Regions from separate parts of the Homo sapiens genome. Here region 1 is linked to region 2. Evidence: promoter capture Hi-C in 16 types of primary human blood cells and fetal thymus (Javierre and others, 2016). All regions are on one chromosome and are shown on one strand. Each heading gives the region's core, a stretch centred on a gene start or on the middle of the fragment in contact. The rest is flanking DNA. Distances are from core to core; before and after follow the strand shown.

Evidence for each region. Contacts are between HindIII fragments. The CHiCAGO score rates a contact against its expected background, and 5 or more counts as called.
Region 1: a contact is called between the fragment with the promoter of HSPG2 here and the fragment with the promoter of ECE1-AS1 in region 2, in 6 of 17 cell types (fetal thymus, naive CD8 T cells, total B cells and 3 more). The highest score is 7.9, in fetal thymus.

Annotation. Positions count from the first base shown.
Region 1 is chr1:21,931,806-21,938,588 of GRCh38, reverse strand. It overlaps HSPG2 (heparan sulfate proteoglycan 2), which reads left to right and starts at 1,279. Exons shown (of 97, transcript NM_005529.7): 1 at 1,279-1,434. The coding sequence starts at 1,372. RefSeq lists a silencer at 891-1,240 and enhancers at 1,988-2,829, 6,284-6,783. The HindIII fragment of the contact is 13,080 bases long and covers 1-1,948 here.
Region 2 is chr1:21,289,822-21,296,392 of GRCh38, reverse strand. It overlaps ECE1-AS1 (ECE1 antisense RNA 1), which reads right to left and starts at 3,103. Exons shown (of 3, transcript NR_038404.1): 1 at 2,650-3,103; 2 at 2,183-2,459. ECE1 (endothelin converting enzyme 1) reads left to right here and starts at 5,930. Exons shown (of 19, transcript NM_001397.3): 1 at 5,930-6,029; 2 at 6,237-6,323. The coding sequence starts at 5,979. RefSeq lists enhancers at 1,527-1,686, 1,026-2,225, 3,067-3,156 and silencers at 5,849-6,028, 6,079-6,248. The HindIII fragment of the contact is 8,029 bases long and covers 1-3,269 here.

The sequences.
Region 1 (6,783 bases), core at 30-2,529, 640 kb before region 2:
AGTGTGTGAGTTGGTGTGGTTCTGGCTCTGGGGCTGTGATTTATGTGACTCAAAGTTGGTGTGTGAGTGATTTACATGGAAAATGGTGCAGGTGGGGTGGGCAGCTCAGTTCAGTACCCAGTGCCCACTATGAGGCACTGTGATTAGTGGGTGAGAACAGGTAAAAGATACAGGCTGAGGCTGGGTGCGGTGGCTCAATGCCTGTAATCCCATCACTTTGGGAGGGCAAGGCGGGCAGATCACAAGGTCAGGAGTTCGAGACCAGCCTGGCCAACATGGTAAAAACCCCATCTCTATTAAAAATACAAAAATTAGCCAGGCGTGGTGGCACGCCTGTAATCCCAGCTATTCAGGAGGCTGAGGCCGGAGAATTGCTTGAACCCGGAGGCGGAGGTTGCAGTGAGCCAAGATCCCACCACCGCACTCCAGCCTGGGGACAGAGCGAGACTCCTTCTCAAAAAAAAAAAAAAAAAAAAAAACAAGCTGGTAAGCATGTAGGCAATGATGTGGGCCTGTGTGTGAAATGTGCGTGCCTGCGAGGAATCTATGTGAAAAGGCGTCCTCCCGCTCCGTGACTTGTTGGGATGTATGCGTGAGTGAGGGGCTGAGTGTGGTGTGAGGGCTGTCTCCTGTGTCCCTGGTGGAGGTGAGAGTTTGGAAGCGAGTTAAGTGTGCATGTGAGCCGGTGAGGATTGTTGGTACTTCAGAGTTGGGTCCAGAGTGTGAAAGTGTTCCCGGGTAGCGCACAAGTGTGTTCGTGCAGTAAAGTTATGGTGTGAAGGTGTTCTTGGGTGTGGAAGTTGGCGTGCACGTGTGGCGCGGAGCGGCAGCTGCGTGCGTGTGAGCGTGGGAAGGAGATCCCGGGATCTTCAAAAGCTGCGCGAGTGGAGTCGGCCGTGCGGGGCGTGCAGGGGCGTGGAAGTCGGCGGCGCGCGCGGGGAAGCGGGGGAGCCGGGGATCGGGGAGGCGAGAGCGCCTGGCCCGGCGGCCCCATCCCATGCCCGGGCCCGGGCCCCCGGTCCCCCGCCCCGTCCCATCCCATACTCCAGGCCGGGTTTGGCGGGGAGCCGGGCCGGGCCGCGGCCCGCGCGGAGGGGGCTGGGGGCCCAGACAAAGGCCTAGTAGGCTGCGCGGCCGGCTGGGGCGAGCAGAGCCCGCGGCCCGGGGGCGGTCCGTGGGCGGGGCCTGGCGCTCCGGGGAGGGGCGGTTCGGGGGCGGGGCCGGCGCTGCGGGGGCGGGGCGGGCGGGGAGGAAAGGGGGCGGTGGGGAGAGGGCCGCGCTGTCCCGAGCTGGCCGGCGAGCGGGCGGCTGCGGGCGGCGCGGAGCGGGCGGCGCGGAGCGAGCGAGCGAGAGAGCGGCGCGGGCCGGGCCATGGGGTGGCGGGCGGCGGGCGCGCTGCTGCTGGCGCTGCTGCTGCACGGGCGGCTGCTGGCGGTGAGTGTGCGGGGCAGAGGGGCGGGGGGCGGGGGCGGAGGGGCTAGGGGCGCCCCGGTCCCGCTCGCCGCCTCCCGCCAACTTGGCTGGGGCGCCCAAGGCTGCGCGGCGGGGACTCTGGCCCGGGACGGCGGCGCCCGCCGGGGACCCCGGGCCGGCGCCACCCTGCGGCATGGGGCTAATCCAGGGGGGCCACCAGTCAGGACCCTTCGTGGGGCTGGGGGCGGGGCTGGCCCGTGTGGGAGCCCGTGGGTCTCTCGGCCACGTTGCCGAGTGCTGGAGTCTCGCTGGGCATGGTCCGGCCTACCATTCCTGGGGACCAGGAGGGGAAACTTTGAGCAGGGTGGGAACTTGGCAGGACGAGGGAACCCTTCTGCGCCAGCTTGGCAGAACGGCCACTCAGTGGTGATGGGGACCCTATGAGTCTCGCTGAAACTTTACCACACCGTCTATCACCTTGGGGAGCTTGGACCCAGGTAGGCACAAGCAAAACTTTTGGGACAGAACTGAAGCTTGTGTGGAACACCCACGGGCCTTGGAGTCATACAGCCGAAGAGTTGAATCAATCCCTGCCTTTCACTGAGTAACTGTGTGACCTGGGGCACGCTAGTTAACCTCTCTGAGGCCAGCCCCACGTGGGTCAAGGGAACTCAAAATGCACGGCCTCAAAATGCATAGCTGCAGGGCGTTGCTGGACTGCGTGGAATGAGCTGCAAAGTGCGTGGTGCGGGGATGCAGTGCACCCTTGGGGGACCCGAGTTCCCCAGCTTTCCTCTTCCCAGGTCTCCAAGAGGCAGGGAGAGGCCTGCCCTTGCAGTCTAGTCCCCTACTCTGAGCTTAGGTGGAGGAAAAGGGAATTCTACGGTCAGGAATCCCGAGGCTTAGAAGGCACTTGGCCAGCAGAGGCCCTGAGGACCTGAGTGAACTTGAGGAGGACTGGGTGGGGTCGGTGGGCAGGGAGCTAGTGGCAGATGTGGGTGGGGGCACATCTGGGGAGCCGAGCCTACCGTGGGGAGCCACAGAGCCACCCCCACTCTCTCCGAGGTGCTCCTAGGCAGTCCCCATACCTGCCTCCCTGTTCTCTGAGCCAAGAGAGGGACTTTTCTAACCAGGCTGGTGTTTACCCAGGAACTGCCTGCCTGGCCTCACCTTCCTGGCTTCATCGCACCTCTACCCTCCTGAGTCACTCGTCAAGCCCCCACCCAGACCTGGCTCCTCACTGCTCTTGCCCCACCCACCCAGCACTTCTCCTCCCCCATCCCCACTCTGGGCAGCCTCCTCTGTCGTCCTCCTGTTTCAGCCTCTCACCCCAAAATATTCAGCAGGGCCATCCAGTAGCTCCCTAGTCTTGACCTGAACTTGCACTCCTGGCACTGACTTTTACTTTTCCCAACGCACCAACCTAGCACGTGGGATGTTTTCCGAGGCCCAACAGTCTTTCCTGACCTTCCCCCAGCTCTGCCCCCGATGAGGGGCTCCTCCATGCCCGGGTGCGGTAGGATGGCGGTGGGTGGAGTTGTTTGCTGTGTGCATGAGGAATTTCCACAGACATTCCTGGACCGTGGCAGATCATCTCATTCACTTGTTCATTCAACAGATCATCACTGAGCGACATTCCATGGCAGTCACTGGGAGTACAGAGGTTCATTCTTTGGGCAGATATTTGCCATGCACCTACTGTGTGCCAGTGAACCAGTGAACCTCGTGTGGTGCTAGGGGCTGGGGTGGGTTGGACCAGCAAGGACAGGCCCTGTCTGTGCCTTCCCAGCACTCACAGGCTGGTGGGCGGTAATTTAGACAAATAAACAGGCAGCTCCAATCCTGTGGGATTAGAGAGCCTTCTCAGCAACACATGGAGGGTCGCTGTCCCACCCCAGGCTGCTGGTGGTGGGCTGGAAAGAGCTTGGCCCCTGAAGTCTCTTTATAAAATTCTTTTTAAAAAGTTTTTCAGGCCAGGCGCGGTGGCTCATGCCTGTAATCCCAGCACTTTGGGAGGCCACGGTGGGCGGATCACGAGGTCAGGAGTTTGAGACCAGCCTGGCCAACATAGTGAAACCCCATCTGTACTGAAAATACAAAAATTAGACGGGTGTGGTGGCGCATGCTTGTAATCCCAACTACTCGGGAGGCTGAGGCAGGAGAATCGCTTGAACCCAGGAGGCGGAGGTTGCAGTGAGCTGAGACCACACCATTGCACTCCAGCCTGGGTGACAGAGTGAGACTCCGCCTCAAAACAAACAAACAATAAAAAGTTTTTCGGGGCCAGGCGCGGTGGCACACGCCAGTAATCCCAGGACTTTGGGAGGCCGAGGCGAGCGGATCATGAGGTCAGGAGTTCAAGATCAGCCTGGCCAGCATAGTGAAACCCTGTCTCTACTAAAAATGCAAAAAGTTAGCCAGGCATGGTGGCACGTACCTGTAGTCCCAGCTACTCCGGAGGCTGAGGCAGGAGAATGGCGTTAACCCGGGAGGCGGAGCTTGCAGTGAGCCGAGATCGCGCCACTGCACTCCAGCCTGGGCGACAGAGCAAGACTCTGTCTCAAAAAAAAAAAAAGAGGGCATCACACTTTGTTGCCCAGGCTGGTCTCAAACTCCTGGCCTCAAGCGATCCTCTCGCCTCGGTCTCCTAAAGTGTTGGGATGACAGGCATAAGCCATCATGCCTGGCCTGTCTCTGAAGTCTTACAGACCCAAGTATGAGTCTCTGGGCTGCGGTTTCTGGCTGTGTGATCTGGGGCGAGTTCCTCTCTCTGAGCCTTAGTTTCCAAATCTGTACAATGGGGTTGAGGAGTTTGTTGCAAGTCAAAAATGAGATCAATTCCTAGCCCAGGCTCCCAGCACACCTTGGACCCTCTTTGCCTGCTACCCTTGCTCTCATCTGCCCTTCAGTTTGGTCCGGAGCCAGTGGCTTATGGGGAAGGGTTGGGCACAGCAGCAGGGTGAGATGGGCCTTAGGGAGCTCCAGGCTTCCCCGGGACGGGGGACAGGACCACAGGAAGCTGATCTGTGATTAAGTGTGGGTGTAATTTCAGCTGTTGGGAGGTGAGGAGGCTTGCTGGAGGAGGGGGCTGGGCCTGGGTGACTCGGCAGGCCTTGGCCTGCTGACCCCTTTAGGGCGGCCCTGCAGGGGACAGGCGTCTTGAGGGAGCCTCGGTGGTGATTAAGGTGTTTTCCAGGGCCTAGGAGGGAAGTCGCTGAGATACCTGTTTCCTGCCTCAGCTGGATTTCCTCACTGGGGAGGCTGCCAGCTGAACTGCAGGAGCCTCCCCTTCCTGGCGGTCCCTCAGCCCTCCTCCACGCAGCCAGCTGCTCTGTCACCTGACACTAGCCTACTTGTTCCGTACCTGCAGCCGGCACAGGATGGGGTTTTGAGTGTGCCCTGGACATTCCCGGAGGGAAGGAGGGCAGGCTGCAGGTCTGTCTGCAGGGTAGAAGCTGGAAGGGGCAGAGATGGACCACCCCCCCATCCCTTAGGCCCATTTCCCCCTGTCTGGGGAGTTGTGGCCCCTGCCTGGCTTGGCCCGGGCCTGCTCTCAGGCTGAGCGCAGACAAGTTAGGATCTGTGGGTCTGAAGCCCTGCCCGGGAGACGGTGGAAAGAAGGTGGCAGGAGGTGACTGGGTTCAGGGCCCGGAAGACGGGTGAGCAAAGTGGAGGGGAAGGAGCTCTTGGGGTGCCAGGCTGGATGATGACACAGTAATACGGGTACTTCAGACTTACCCAGTACCCACTGTCTGCTCTGAGTTTCTCAGTGAATCCTCCCATTCACCTGTGTTTCCTGCTCACCACCTCCCTGCGGTGCTCAGAATTAGGTCCCAGCCCCTGACTTAATATAGCCTACGAGGCCCTGCAACACCCGGCCTCCTGCCACCTGCTCCTCTCAAACTCCTCCAGCTATACCAGTCTTTGTTTCTTTTTCTTTTCTTTTTTTTTTTTTTGAGACAGGGTCTCACACTGTCACCCAGGCTGGAGTGCAGTGGCACAATCACAGCTCACCGCTGCCTCAACCTCCCACGCTCAGGTGATCCTCCCACCTCAGCCCCCTGAGTAGCTGGGACTACAGACACCCTCCTCTACACCTGGCTAATTTTTGTATTTTTTATAGAGACAGGGTTTTGCCATGTTCCCCCAGGCAGGTCTCGAACTCCTGGGCTCAAATGATCCACCCCCTTCGGCCTCCCAAAGTGCTAGGATTATAGGCGTGAGCCACTGCACCCAGCCTTTTCTTTTCTAATGAATATAAAAATTTAAAACAAATAGAGATGGGATCTTGTTGTATTGCCCAGGCTGGTCCCAAACTCTTTAACTCAAGCTATCCTCCCACCTCAGCCTTCTGAAGTGCTAGGATTATAGGCATGGGCCACCTCGCCTGACCAAGGCTTTGTTTCTTGAGCATGTGAAACACACTCCCACCTTAGGGTCTCTGCGTCTGCTGTTCCTTCTGCCTGGGACATTTGTCCCCGTAATATCCATATGACCCTCTCCCTCTTTCTGGTCCTTACCACTCTTCCCATAATGGCTGTCTCCTTAAACTGCTTTATTTTTGTTCTCACAATTGTCTGGCCTGTATTTGTCTGTATTTGTTTATGTGTTTATCTGCTTCCTCCTGCTCAGTTTAAGTTCTACGAGAGCAGGACCTCATTTGTTTTTGTTCACTGCTGTATGCTTAGCACCTGGCAGGTAGTAAGTGCTTAGTGAATATCTTTGTCGAATGTTTTAAGCTGTAGCTACTAGCCTGATCCCCATTCTCTAAGCAGAGGACATTGAGGCACTGAGAGGTTACGTAACTTGCCCAGTGACTTACATATCCACACACTCAGAGATGCTGCAAGCCAAGTTTTGAATCCAGACGAAGCTCTCCTAATCACGCCACGTACTGCCCCATGTGCTTGTCGTGGGCAGTCAGTAGATATTGCTACAACTTGTCACAGATGTTGATTAAGAACTCTGGTCCCAAGTAGTACAGGGGCTACCTCAGGCAAGGAATATCAGGGATTGGCTCGGGGACAGAAGCTCTTAGGTTGGGTATGCCTCAGTGTCCGTGGGGTCTCCTAGGGACGCCTGTGCCTGGAGGGGAAGCCTAGGAACTCTAGGGTGGTCATTTTTAGGTTTGTTAATTCATTAATGTTCTCATCAGATATTTCCTGGGACTCTACAGGCAGTTGAATTTATCCAGGGACTTTTAGGCCTGAGTGGGCCAGGCTGGCCCTGCCCAGTGTGGGAGGTCAGGGGCCCCTGCCCCTGCCATGCTGCTAGTGGGGGAAGGGGAAGAACACCCTCCTGGTTGTCCTGTGTGGAGCCTGCGCTGTTTTTTTCTGGCTGTTCCCTGGGGGCTCAAGGTTTAGGGTGAGT
Region 2 (6,571 bases), core at 1,854-4,353:
ACAGGTGGATGCCACCACACCTAGCTAATTTTTTTTTTAAATTTTTTGTAGAGACAAAGTCTCACTGTGTTACCCAGGTTGGTCGCAAACTGCTGGGCTCAAGCAATCTGCCCACCTCGCCTCCCAAAGTGCTGGGATTACAAGCATGAGCACCCGGCTGAAGGGTACATGATTTCTATTAATAACTCGTATTTGACTTCTTGCTGTTGATATTAACCTCCATCACCTGGGCAATCTGTTATTTTCACTGAGTTTACAGCAGGGCTAGAGTAACAACAAATGTTGGCTGAACAAAGGCCAAGACTGGAAAATCTGGATGAGGGCAGAAGCAAATGGGAGGGGTGGTGAGGAAGACAAGAAGAAGCAAGCAGAAAGAGGTGGCCTGCGCAGGATGTCCCTCTGGTGTGGTTCACGCAGGCTTGGGCTGCTGGATGCCAGGCAGTTCATGTTCTAGCTTACTCGGTATTTACAATGGCCCTTTTACGGATGAAGAAACTGAGACCTGAGGGTGAAAACAACATGTCCGAGGTCACATGAGCCAGGAAACCTGTGAGTGGGCTCAGGTCTGTCTTAATTGCCTGATAAATGTTGTTTCTAACTCTGTTCCACAAAGGATTCATGATAGGTTATAAATAAAATACATTCAGTAAAACGACATGCAATACCAAATGGAAAATCAGAATCACGGAAAACAGAGTGGAAAATGTGGACAAGGAAAAAGCTGAACCTAAAGGCCAAGAAAGTGCCCATAGGCGAGTTTCTGATTTGGCTATGAGTTTCCTGGCAGCCAAAGAAAAAAGAGATACAAGCTGATTCCTGTTATTAAAAAGTAAAGAAGCAGTTTACACTTTCAGGAACTTCATAGTAAATTTTAAAATAAGCTAATCACATGGAAATTTCTCTGGTGAAAAATACTGGGAAATATAATGGATAATGTAATAATAATAAATGTCAAGTGGCATATCTTTAGAAATGATAGCCATATTTTTATATCTTATCCCTTGCCCAAAGTTGTGTTACTTGGGTTTGTTTTTGTTTTTGTTTTTTTGAGACAGGGTTTTGCTGTGTTTCCCAGGCTGGTCTTGAACTCCTGGCCTCAAACAATCCTCCGGCCTGGGTCTCCCCAGGTGCTGGGATTGCAGGCATGAGTCACCATGCCCAGCCAAGCACTTTATCTATATTAACTCATTTAAGTGTCACCACAGTCCTATGAGGGAGGTACTATTGTTATCATCATCCTCCTCATTTGACAGATGAGTACTGAGGCACAGAGAGGCTGAGTCACTTGCTCAGGGTCACAGAGTTGGGAAGTTCAGACTGGGGATCTGAAATGAGGTTTAGATCCAGAGATTTTACCCACTACATTATAGCATCTGTGAAATATAAGTGTTTAGCTACCAGATAATATGAGTGTGTTTTAGATGACATGTAAAGATTGAACAGATCCCAGCCAATTACCAGCACCAAAAGTAGTAACTGATGGGGACTTCGGCCACAAAGGGCAGCGTCTCTAAGGAGCTGAGGCTTAGAGACAATGTGAAAGTAGCTGTGGAGGGTGTGGCTCAGTCCCAGGCCTCAGAATTTCACATGTGGGGCTTCCCTTTTCCACCTCATCACCCCAAGATGACTTAACAATCCCCCGCCTTTGGCCAACCAAACGCAAGAGCCATATGAGTGACTAATGTCGTCTGGGCAAAGGGGGTCATGCCCAGGTGCTACCAGGCCAGGAGGCTTTTGTCGCCAGAAACCTGTGCGTGTTTATATTTCTCGTTTCTGCTCACCACAGGCCTTTGATTTACAAGGGTGGAGTTTCCAGAGCTGGGCACTGTTGCACCTTCATCTGGCTGTCATCACTTCCTCTGTGCAGCTGGGGCACCGGGGACTGAGGACGGGGCAGTCCACAGGGAGCTGTGGTTCCACCCCTTCACTCTTGGTTTCTGCCAGGCCCTCCTCTTGAACACTAGACCCAGATTCAACCCAGATTTCTCCTCCACGGCTGCACAGTGCCAGGAAGGGAACTGAGAAGACCAAAGTGGAGGTTCTTTACCTTCCCCAACACACTCGGGGCCAGGCGTGGCACCCACAACTGCAAATGAGACAATTAGGGAGAATAAGTGCTGGCTGCCCTGTCAGCCCAGAGCCTCAGTCTGCCCAGGGCACCCAGACTCTGTGAGGTTCCCACCTGAAGAAGCAGTTCCATCTTCCACAAGGAGCACAGGACCAAGAGTCCAGGACCCAGGTTCGAGGCCCAGCTCTACCACTTTCTCGCCGCGGGGCTCGGGTTCTCTGGAGGCAGCGTAATGGAGTCAGTGGGTTTGGCAAGGGGAAGATTCGCATTATGGCTCCCTCAGTCTCCAGGCAGGTGACTCAGGGCTGGGGGGAGGTCCTTTCTCCTCTCTGACCCTTGGTCATCTCATTTGTAAAGCGGAGGTGATGATTCTCATCTCAGGGACGAGGCACTGTGGGGTTAGGAGAGAATTTGTCAAGTGGCATGGTTGGTTTTTGGTCTGTCTAGGCCCCTCCCCCTCTCTGTAAGCTGGAAGCGGTACTTGTGAGGCTGAGGCTCTAGGTGGGTGTGGGGAGCCATTGGGGTAGTGAATGGAAGGCCCTGGGCGAAGGGCCCCAGGCAGCTGTTGAAATGTCACTCACCCACTGTGGACTTCCCACCAAGCAGAGCCCGCCAAGCCTTTCCCGTCTGAGGTGGGTTCAGTTTCACTACCGGGCTGAGGCAGGCATCTCAGGAAGGGGCCCTCGGCTTTTGTGTGCTGAAAAATAACCAGGCTCCATCTCTGCTGATTTCTGCTTGGGAGTTCCGTGAGCTTCCTGCATCATCTGTCCACAGACAGGCTGCCGCAGGGTGGACATCAGAGTCCCTGGGGTGGCTTCCGGCCTCCCTCCCTTGCCTCCCGCCTTTGCTCAAACATCTGTAGAGGCTCCAGCCCCAGACTAAGCCCTTAAGGAGACAGGGTCCCGTGAGACCCAGCCTCTGCCATCAGGGTTCTCCTGTCTAAAATGCTGTGTGCCTCAGTAAAAGGCAGCATGGGGTAGGGTGGCTGTGTGGGGACACAGAGCCAGGGACCAAATGCTGTCTGGGGTCCCTGGAGGGTGGTCAGGAGAGCTTGCCAGAAGGGGGAAATCTCTGAAATGAGACAGAAGGAGGAGGAGCCATCGCTTAACCACACCTGGGCGAGTTAACTTCCCCAAGCCTCAGTTTCATTCTCTGTAAAAGGAACCAGTGATACCTGCTTCTGAGGGAAGGGTGAGAAGCTTAAAAGAGATGGTATAAAAGAACTGACAAATCCCGTACACCAGCCGGGTGAATCCCTTACACCACCCACATGCCCCGGGGAGATGTTCTGTGAACTGAACTTCTTTTTCAAAAGTCTTTTCCTCTGGCAATCGACACCTGGTAACGTAGTGTAACCAAGTGTCCTGTTCTAGAAAAAGCCCAGCTGCAACCCAGCAGTAAGTGAAGCAGCCTCAGAGTCCCCTCTCTCTCTGGGATGGGTAATGGAAACTCCTCCACCCAGTGGGAGTGAGGCAGAAGTCTCCAGAATTCAGAGCTTTCCCATGCACCCTGCCTCCCCAGGGCCTGTGACCTTTAGATGTGTTCCCTGTTTCTGTAGGCATTATGAAGTTAGATGCAGGAGAGTTCTTGAGAACTTGAAGGCACTTCCCCTCTACTTGTCCCCCCTTTGATTTTAACAACCGTTTGTTGAGCACCTACTCTGTGCCGGGTGATGGAGAGTCTCTGTTGGACAGGCCAGACAAGGTCCCAGCCCCAGTAAAGCTGTGGATTCTGGAGAGGGACAGAGACAGTGATGATAAAGACATGGAAACAAAACAGTCTGCAACAAGTACTGTAAAGGAAAACAAACAGGATGCTGTAACAGAGAATTTGGGGGACTGCTTAGGGTTCCTGGGACATTTGAGGAGCTGGTAGGCTGAGATCTGAAGTTGGAGCTGACCATGGGAAGAGTAGAGAGGAGGAAAAAATGTTCCAGATAGAGACAACAGCAGCTACAAAGGTCTTGGGGGAAGAAGAAACTTGTAGAAACTGAGGAGTTGTGTGAGGAGGTTGGTGGGGGAGGGGGCGCTGGCAGCACAAGATGAGGGCCCAGAGTGGGCAGGGGCCATGGGGCCTGGTGAAGGGTTTGGATTTCATTCCAGGACAGTGGAGGGTTTTTAAGCAAGGGAGTGGTAATATCAGAATTTTTTTTTATTTTATTTATTTACTCAGACAAGATCTTGTTGTGTCGTCCACGCTGGAGTGCAGTGGTGCAATCACAGCTCACTGTAGCCGCCACCTCCTGGCTTCAAGCGATTCTCCCACCTAAGCCTCCCAAGTAGCTGGGACTACAGGCGCATACCACCACGTCCTGCTAATTAAAAATATATAATATATAAATATATATATATATATTTTCTTTTTGTAGAGATGGGGTCCGTGTTGCCCAGGCTGGCCTAGAATTAGACTCAAGTGATCTCCTGCCTCAGCCTCCCAAAGTGCTGGGATTACAGGTGTGAACCACTGAACCCAGCCAGATTTCTGTGGTTTGTTTGTTTGAGATGGAGTCTCACTCTGTCACCCAGGCTAGAGTACAGTGGCACAATCTCAGCTCACTGCAACCTCGACCTCCTGGGTTCAAGCGATTCTTCTGCCTCAGCCTCCTGAGTAGCTAGGATTACAGATGCATGCCACCAGGCCCAGCTGATTTTTTGTATTTTTAGTAGAGATGGGGTTTCATCATGTTGGCCAGGCTGGTCTTGAACTCCTGACCTCAAGTGATCTACCCAACTTGGCCTCCCAAAGTGTTGGGATTACAGGCGCGAGCGAGCCATGGTGCCTGGCCTCAGCCAGATTTCATTTTAAAGGCTCATCCTGGCTGCTGAGGGGGCTGTCAGAGGGCAGGAGTGGAAGCCAGGAGACCATCTGGAGCCATTGCCCTCACTGTCCCTGTGACGTCAGGCCCCTCACCCCTCTAAACCTGTTTATTCACACATATGTGTGACTGTGAGAATCAAATTTGGAATGAGCAGAAATGCACTTTGCAAAGCTGAAAAGTACGCATAAATGCAGGGATTCCCGCCTTGCTAGAAGCGGAGAGTCCTTTGGAAATCTGCTGGGTTAGACCTCTCTGGGGTTCTTGGTTGGGACAGTGCTGGGCCTGAGTCCCTAACTGAACACCTCATATCCGAGAGAGCCCCCTTTCCCTGCCTAGGGTTATAGGAGAGGGCTCAGGGGCTGGGGAGGGGGGCACCTGGCTGAGGCTCCGAGTCTTGAGGGGGAAGATGGGAAAGAAGGGTCCCCTTCCTGGCTTCTGACTCCCCCTGGAGCAATGGTTCTCTTGTGTTGCAGGGAGGGCGACACCTTTGAGCACGGGGGTGACCACCGGACCACCCTGCAGCCATCCAAATGCACACACACAGCTCCTTTCATCCCGTGTCAGGGAGTTCTCTGAAATTTTCTGAAACTCATTCACGAACTCTGGCTTAAAGGCCTCTGAGCTAGAAAGGGGAACTGAAAGGGGACACCTACCTTTTTACCCCACCTTTTTTGTCTGGTCTTTCTAGCATTAACCCCCTAGACACACCTAAGGGCTGATGCCGGGGGGAACCTGTCTTGATTGCTCTGGGCCACATCGAGGGCACCTTCCTGATACTTTTGTTATCTGCCACTGGGGACCCGGTTGTTGAAGGGGGACTTAAGATTTTCTCGAAGGAGGGGTCACTGTGAGGGCCTTTCCTGCCTGCTAGGGGCTTCAGTTTGGGGGCCCCCACTCCCGACCTCCGGGGAAGGGAGGGGTCCCCATCTCCCCCGGGCCTCTCGGGTCTTGGGGTCTCCCCGGGAGGCCGGAGGTTGGGAACCGGGCGCCGGCGAACCGATCAGGCCCCGCCCGCGAAGGTGGTGCAACGCCTGGCCCGGCCCATCCCATCCCGGCCACCCGGGCAGCGGGACCAGGCGTCTGGGGCACAGCATGCGGGGCGTGTGGCCGCCCCCGGTGTCCGCCCTGCTGTCGGCGCTGGGGGTGAGGCGGGCGCGGCCTGGAGGGCGGGGGCGGGAGGCGGGCGGGACCCCTCCCCGCGCGGGCCGCTCCGTGGGCCGGTCTCGGTCTCGGGTGTCCAGGCCGGGGCGGGGCGCGGCGGCGGCGGCGCCAGGGTCGGGGCCGCTTCCCCATTCGGGCGCGAGAGCCATGGAGGCGCTGAGGGAGTCCGTGCTGCATTTGGCCTTGCAGATGTCGACGTACAAGCGGGCCACGCTGGACGAGGAGGACCTGGTGGACTCGCTCTCCGAGGGCGACGCATACCCCAACGGCCTGCAGGTAGGCGCCCTCCGCTCCCTCCCGAGGTCCAGGCGCCCCGGGCCCGGGCATGCGCGCTGCCGCTGCCGCGCCCCCCGCCCCTACCTACCCCGCCTCTTCCCCTCCCTTCCCCTCCCTCGTCCCGGCATCCGGGAGGGGCCGCGCCTCCCCGCAGCTGGAGCTCCGCGCTGAGAAGCCTTCCGGAGCCCACCAGTCTCCCCTCACCTGCCCCCGCCATCCCTAGAGCCTCCCGGCCACCTGCTTCTGGG